Linked DNA regions of Homo sapiens: region 2 is linked to region 1. Evidence: promoter capture Hi-C in 16 types of primary human blood cells and fetal thymus (Javierre and others, 2016). All regions are on one chromosome and are shown on one strand. Each heading gives the region's core, a stretch centred on a gene start or on the middle of the fragment in contact. The rest is flanking DNA. Distances are from core to core; before and after follow the strand shown.

Region 1 (3,926 bases), core at 579-3,078:
TACTTTGGAAAACATTTTTTGGTTACATCTCTGCTTCCTTACACATTCAGAAATCCAGAAATGCAAAGGCCTTTTATTTTCACATTGCCTTATGGGTTTTTACCTGATAATAACATGTTCTCAATGAAGGGCTACTAGAGTCCAGTTCACAGCTCCAGAACTCTACTAACACGTACTAATCTCTTTCCCTCTCGAATTCAGACAAAAGAAAAAAGAAAGCCCAGGTGTATTAAATCCCGGCCCACTACCAAGGTTCTTAGGGAGAGCCAAGTTTTCTTTAAACTCTCCTGGTATCACGTCTTATATCTCCTCCTGTGCTACTGGGAAAGTAACATCTTCAATTTGTCACCACAGGCAGGTCTAATAAACCAAAAGAGAACAAGCTCCATACCTTTGTGTCTCTTGCTTTTCTTTTTTCTGGAGACAGTTCTCTCATGGATGCTTTCCTCCTGGGCATCCATCTCATCACTGCTGTCGATGATGTCACAGGGCTCACCAGCCCCAGAAAGAGCTTCCTCTGCAGGAACCTGAGAGGCTTCCAAGCCACAAAGAGATTTTACTAGAAGAAAATAAAAGGAGAATGAGATGGCACACAGCTCCACCCAGAAATACAAACAACTTAGCCAAGGTATCAGCATCCATTCAGGAAAGGGGGGAAAAAAAACATCGTTGAGAGAGAAAGGTGAGAATCTGTCACCAAAAAAAATAAAGATTTTAGTATTTTAAATACAAAAAAAAAAAAAAAAAAGGAAAGCAATGGGCAAACTGACTCCAAAGTTGCAGAAACTCCTTTTTTCAGCCCTGAAGAAAAAAGGTGTGTACAATTTTTCCACTATAAACCCTGCAGGATAAAAGCTGATTTGTATTCTCATAAGGTCTACAGAGAAATGTTTGAGACAAATTGAATCCAATTTAATCCTGGTCCTGAGCTGGAGGCAGTAGGTGTCATAAAACACAAGTCTCAGACCCATGAGTAAACAGACTGAAAGCAAGAGAAACACCAGAAAAGGAAAAGAACACTCCAAGGTTATTAAACAAGGAAGCAAACTGCAGAGTAAAACATGTGAACTACAGCAAAGAGATTAATAACCAAGAAGAATGCAGTGGAAACTAAAAAGTATGCAAACATGTTTTTAAATGCAAAGAAAGAAAGAAAATATTTCTGCTACAGAAACTGCTACTCTTGACTAATCCTCCTCCACCCCAATATGTAAGTTAACACTAACGAAAGCAAACACGGTTACAGGAAGACGACTAAAGGACTGCAAGAAAAACAGAAATAAAATACCTAGTTCTGTCTTCGCGGCATGAGTCTTTAAAGGCTCGCGCAAAGCTTACCTTCCTGCTGAACAGCGTTGGCTACGGCTTTCTTGACTCGTCCAGACCTCACGACCGCCGGATCCGAGTTGGCGTAATCCGCCACGGTCACTGCAACACAGCACCAACCCTCAAGGAAGAGGCCTTCTCTCGTCAGCGTCTTCCCCGCCAACACCTCCTCCTCGCTGCAGGCCCCCGGACCGAGCCGCCCTCCAGCCGCGGGCACGCGAGCGCTCACCTCGGCACGGTCCAGCCCCCTCCCAGCCGCCAGCCCCCAAAATGTTTCAGCGCCCCTGCCCCCCTCGCCCACCTCGGCCGGAGCAGGCGTCGTGGGCCCGGAACTTGAGTCGCTTTCCTCTCTTGGGCATGGCGACCGTATCGGGGCGAGGCCTGCCTAGCGGGCCGGGCCCCCGGGCCATGTCTCCGGCCGGAGAGCCGGCCCCGGGAGCCGCAAGCCAGCTCCGCCCGGCTCCGCGGCCATCCCACACCGGAGGCCGCTAACTCTCGCGAGAACATAGGTCCGGGTTCCGAGTCGCGTTGTCGGACGACGCCTCTCCACGCGAACCAATCATCGCCAGGTGCAAGGATACGTCATCATCCGGCACCCGCGAATCAAGCTGGGTCCGGGTTCCAGGTGGAGAGAGAGCTGTTGTACTGGGTGGTGTCGCGTATCGCCGTACCTCGTGTGAGATGAATGGTGTCTCAGAACCATAGCCCACACCTGTGTTGATTAGAATTGAGAGTTTACATCCTGGTCTCCGGGATTCTTCTTAGTAACTCCTCTGTCCACACTCCAGGTCCACTTCAGCACCAAAATGCATATACACTGTCATCTTCGTGCTCTATCTCGGACCACAGAGACTGAGCGCCTGCTAGTCTAACATAGGTCTGTAAGAGTCTTCACTCTATTTTACGAAAGCTATAAATAAATTTCTGAATTCTCAAAATAGGAGAAGGAGTTCTTAAAAGCTTCCAATCGGCCGGGCGCGGTGGCTCACGCCCCTAATCCCAGTACTTTGGAAGGCCGAGGCGGGCGGATCACGAGGTCAGGAGATCGAGACCATCCTGGCTAACACGGTGAAACCCCGTCTCTACTAAAAATACAAAATATTAGCCGGGCGTGGTGGCGGGCGCCTGTAGTCCCAGCTACTCGGGAGGCTGAGGCGGAAGAATGGCATGAACCCGGGAGGCGGAGCTTGCAGTGAGCTGAGATCGGGTCACTGCACTCCAGCCTGGGCGACAGAGCAAGACTCCGTCTCAAAAAAAAAAAAGTTTCCAATCTATCACCATATAAGGTTAGCCGAGAGAAAGGACGAAAGAGAGACCCAAGGTCAGCCGAGGAAGTTTATTAACCTGACGGCTGCTCCACCACAGACAGAGGAGGCACCCCTGAGCTTACAAAATGAGGGGTTTATATGGGGGAGAGAGACCCTGGGGTTGTTTGCTGGTTAATTTTGCCACATATTAGCTTGTGACGTTTATTACAGGAGGGTGTAGGTAAAGTTTGTTTATGCTTCCCATCACCTTCCCCTGTGCGGTCCGGATGATTTGTAATTGGGGTTTGTTTATTGCAGCAAGGTCTGATAAGTGAAGTCTGCTGGCTTCATAAGGACTTAGAAGTGTAAAGAGGCTTGGGGGAAGGAGAAGAGTTGCAGAGCATTAGGGGGAGGAGTGAGCAGCACGGAGAGGTTTGGGGGAAGTGTCGGCAGTACCAAGAAGCTTTTTGGGGCAGTTTGTTCCTAACACACCATACCTCCAAAAAACTACTAGAAGCATCCATGAAAAACTATCGCAGAGGCAGGAAGGTCACTTGAGTCCAGGAGGTCAAGGCTGCAGTGGGCCATGATTGCGCCACTGCACTCCAGCCTGGGCTACAGAGCGATACCCTGCCTCAAAAAAAAAAAAAGGAGAAAAAGAAAAAATAACGTCTTTCCTTTGTATTGAGACAGAAGCGAGTCACTGAGTGAAGATTACAGAACTGTAAGGGAGCAGGACCCTGGGCTAGTATTATCAGGCCTCTGAGCCCAAGCCACGCCACCGCATCCCTGGTGACTTGCACGTGTACGCCCAGATGGCCTGAAGTAACTGAAGAATCACAAAAGTGAAAATGCCCTGCCCCGCCTTAACTGATGACATTCCACCACAAAAGAAGTGAAAATGGCCAGTCCTTCCTTAAGTGATGACATTACCTTGTGAAAGTCCTTTTCCTGGCTCAAAAAGCTCCCCCACTGAGCACCTTGCGACCCCCACTCCTGCCCACCAGAGAACAAATCCCCTTTGACTGCAATTTTCCTTTATCTACCCAAATCCTATAAAACGGCCCCACCCTTATCTCCCTTCACTGACTCTCTTTTCCGACTCAGCCCGCCTGCACCCAGGTGATTAAGAGCTTTATTGCTCACACAAAGCCTGTTTGGTGGTCTCTTCACACAGACGCGCATGAAAAGTAAATAAATAAATAAATTAAAAAAAAAAGAAAAGTATCACCGCGACACATAAGAAGTTATTTGGTTTCCTAAGTTATTCTCCTTTATCCTTCTAACTTCCTTGCAGCTCCTAAAAGGTGATAATCCCTGGCTTGGGAAACTTAGGACCCAGGCATCCAATCC
Region 2 (3,926 bases), core at 933-3,432, 260 kb before region 1:
AGGATAATAGTTCTTATGGCCTGGGGTTGTGCAGGAATGGAATGGGATAATGCATGGACTCCACGGAGTAAATCGTTTGTGTGATAGTGGCATTATTTCTTCTTTAAATGTCACTGTGACTTACTCTACTACCCTGAGGTCTGGTTCAGAAGTTCTGGTAAGAAGTTACAGGGTGATCCTGTGAGTTTGCATAGAGAAAGCACTCAGACACGGGCTGCAGGAACTGTGGCCACATTTGAGAGCACTTGAGCTACTGCCACACACTTCAGAATATCTGGAGGCAGGAACAGAGAAGGGGAGGTTGTGCATAGTATATTCCAGGCTCTGTGCTAGATCCTTTGCATCGGAGGCTTCAGTTAATACAAATTGTTTGTTGTAAGATAGCATTATCTCCAAGCCTAGAGAGGCCATGAGACTTGCCCGAGGCCAGAATCTAGTGTGGTAGAAGCTGCTAGTCTCCAATAACTTTCTACTATTTTATCAGGGTAAGAAAAGTTGTAGCAGGAAACATGGCTGCCCAGAATGAAGACTGCATTTCCCAGTCTCCTGTGTGGGTAGGCGTGGTCACATGACTGAGTTCTGGCCAAAGAGAAGTAAGTAGACGCGTTATGCAGCAGTGTCTGGGAACCTTTCTTAAGACACAGGTTGTGCATCTGCTGTCTGCTCCTTCTTCTTTGTCCCTCCCTCTGTTTTGCTACTTGGTAGGCAGGTGCTACCTTGTACCATGAGGGCAAGGGCCACTCAATAACAACACAATTGCTGCTGTTGTGAATTTTCTGTTACTCTCATTTCTACCTCATCTTAACTGAGATGCCCTGTGATAGAGTGGGGGATTTGAACCTGAGTCAGTCAGCTGTTTCTCAACACAATGCGAGGTTTCTGGGTCCCCTGTGTGCTCCTGCTGTACCTCATCAGCTCTTAGGTGTGAAGCATCCCTTAGAACTCTGATGAGGTGGCGTTGAAGGAGGGGAGCCACTCTAATGCAGCTTTTCGAACTCATCCATTCCAAAGATGGCTCAGGGCCTTTGCTAGATCCAGAGGCAGCTTGAGGGCGAAAGTCCAGGGCCCTGAGAGGGTGGAAGAGGTGACACTTCTAAGATCCAGGAAACCCCAGCCTCTGCCACAAGACTGGCTGCACAGCTACCCCTGTGGCAGGTGAAGGCAGTGCTCAGGTAGTCCTGGGACTCTTTCTAAACTTCTCTGGCCTGGCCCTCAATGTCCTCTGACAGACTCTAGCTTGCTGGGACACCTCTAAGGAAACTGCCAAGGGAACTGCAGAAGCAGGAGCAGGTGAGAAGTGCCCGGGTGTCTTCTTTCCATGGGGGAATTTGGAGAAGCATTCTGAGCCCAGCAAAGTGTCAGGCAGGCAAGGTAAGGCCTCACCTGATAGGAGGTGTATCCTCGTACCTAGTCTCAGCAAGGAAGGTTGCCAGCTTCATGGCTCTTTTGAGTTAAAAGGGCTGTAAGATCCTTGGTAAACGACCAGAGCCTGAATGTCACAGGGAAGAGGTTGGACTGGGACCCAATACAGCTGCCTATGTATCTGAGAAGACGCTATTTATAAACAGAGAAGGTATTTATTGGCTGGACAATCCTGAGGAAGTCTCCCACTTCTCACTCTCATTCATAAAGTGGGGATCATGATCACTACCTCTCAAGCTTACTGTAACATTGAATGAGGTAATGAATATGAAAACACTCAAAATCTATAAAGTATCTACAAACCTGGAAGATTATAATTCTGCATTTGTACAGTAGAAATAACAGTACCATGGTTGCTATTAGTGCCCAGCCAAATCCCCTTTACTGGTCTGGTGCAACCCTCCATCCCTGCCCACCGGCTGCTGTGAGGTTTGGCTGGTAACAGTTCACAGTTATTCCCTCTGCAGAGACTTCCCCGGGAATGGAAGCTGCCTTACTTGGGGCTTGCAGCCGATGCTTGTCTGACACAGGGGCAGGAAAGGCCAGTCCCCGACCTCAAGACAAGATGAACTCTGGTGTAGCACATGCTTCAGGGATCCCCATGAAATCAGGCCGCAGCTCAGCCACAGCTGACACCACAGCCTGGCTCCCTCCTTCCCCACCCCACTCTCCTTCCTTTTCTTTCTTCTGAGGGTTCTTCCCCAACAGAAGAAGATATGCATGAAATCTGTCCCAGGCTCTGCTTTTAAGGAATCTGGTCCACTTGTCTGCCGTACAAAGTTGCTATGAGGGTTAAATAATATAATACAGATGAAGAGATTAGCCCAGTGCCTGGCATATACAGTGCATATCCAATTAATGTTAAAGATTGCCATTATCCATGAGACTGGAGCATCAGGAACATCTTAGTGTAATAGTGAGGTGTGGAAATCTGGTGAGTGAGTCAGTGGATTGAATTTTACATGCTTAGGGACTGGGGTGGGCAGAGAGAAGGGCAGCTGGGTTTCCTTGGGTATCACTGGTTGTCTCAGCTTTGGGCAGTGAGGGTCCTTTACACAGCTAGGGAAAAGTTCCAGTCATTACATACTTCTACCAGCAGAGGACGCCACTTCCATACAAATAAGTGTTTCCTCTGCTATCTGATGCAGTTTTCATCAAAGCAGTCTAGGCTGGCAGGAAAGATCAGGTACATGACAGAGCAGAAAGTGCCTTCAGATTTGCACAGATAATAGGAGAGGGCAGAACAGGAAGAAACAGTGAGTTAAGCTGTTCAGGAAGCTTCGTGGGAGGTGAGGCCTTGAGCAGGGCACTCTAGCACCAGAAGGAGTATTGAGTGGAGATGGCATTCCCAGGGAAGCCACTACCCTAGGCAAGGTGACCAGGGCCTGAGCCAGGGCCGTGGCAGGGAGGCAGCCACGAGAGGGTATGAAGGACACCAAACACAGGGACAGGACTGATTTCAGCTGAGAGGTCTAGGAGGAGATCATGGGCCCACCAACATGGGGTAGACGTCAGGAAGGAGCACGTTTTTATAGGACAGAGCACACTTCTCCAACTGGTTTGACTGCCCTGTTACAATGTCCTCTGCAAGCCATCATTCTGTAGGATTCCTGTTTTGTGTGGATTCTAGAAACCAGTGAAATATTCAGAGGTGTTAATAGCATCAAGATTTCATTGGTTCTTTCCATTCTTTTTATTTTTATTTTTTGAGATGGGGTCTCAGTCCCTGCCCCAGGCTGGAGTGCAGTGGCACCATCACAGCTCACCACAGCCTCAACACCCCAGGGCTCAGGCGATCCTCCTGCCTCAGCCTCCTGAGTAGCTGAGACCATAGGTACGTACCACCATGCCTGGCTAATTTTACATATATACACATATATGTGTGTATATATAATTATATACGTATATATACACATATATACATATATAATTATATACATATATACATATATACACACACATATATGTGTATATATATACACACATATATATGTATATATACACATATGTATATGTGTGTGTGTGTGTGTGTATATATATATATATATATATATATATATATATTTGAAGAGACAGGGTCTCCTTACGTTGTCCAGACTGATCTTGAACTCCTGGGCTCAAGCGATCCTCCTGTCTCAGTCTCCCAAAGTGCTGGGATTACAGACGTGAGCCACCGCGCCTGGCCAGCTTTTTCCGTTTTGAGTAGAGACGGCAAGAAGCGCCCCACAGCTTGCCCTTGCTTCGGAACTCGGGGTTGTGAATCAGTCAGGATAGAAATTAATGGTGCAGTGGGAATAAAGAGGAATGTTAGATGATCTCGCAGGGGTGGGGGAGAACCCAAAAAGAAAGAACGAACGTGAAGAAGCCTAGCTCTCCGAGACTGGGGTTCAGTCCTTGCTGGAGAAAGTGCGTTGCAGCCCATTGAGGGCAGAAGAGTTCTCTGGGTTGTCCCTGGACAGAACCGGGCCACAGTCAAGAGAGCGAACATTGTGGGGAAGAGAACG

Evidence for each region. The method cuts DNA at HindIII sites, captures the fragments that hold promoters and counts their contacts. A CHiCAGO score of 5 or more calls a contact.
Region 2: a fragment that was not itself captured here is called in contact with the fragment with the promoter of TMEM183A in region 1 in 3 of 17 cell types (fetal thymus, M0 macrophages and M1 macrophages); the score reaches 10.0 in fetal thymus.

Annotation. Positions count from the first base shown.
Region 1 is chr1:203,005,276-203,009,201 of GRCh38, reverse strand. It overlaps TMEM183A (transmembrane protein 183A), which reads right to left and starts at 1,828. Exons shown (of 8, transcript NM_138391.6): 1 at 1,628-1,828; 2 at 1,339-1,428; 3 at 392-559. The coding sequence starts at 1,736. It also overlaps the pseudogene MGAT4FP. RefSeq lists enhancers at 929-1,701, 1,702-2,476, 2,480-2,609, 3,251-3,926, a silencer at 1,520-1,769 and a cis regulatory region at 3,150-3,499. The HindIII fragment of the contact is 953 bases long and covers 1,336-2,288 here.
Region 2 is chr1:203,267,848-203,271,773 of GRCh38, reverse strand. It overlaps LOC124904486 (a long non-coding RNA gene), which reads left to right. Exons shown (of 2, transcript XR_007066798.1): 2 at 1-3,926. Among named protein-coding and RNA genes, the nearest start is that of LINC01353, 17 kb to the left of the region's middle. The HindIII fragment of the contact is 1,041 bases long and covers 1,662-2,702 here.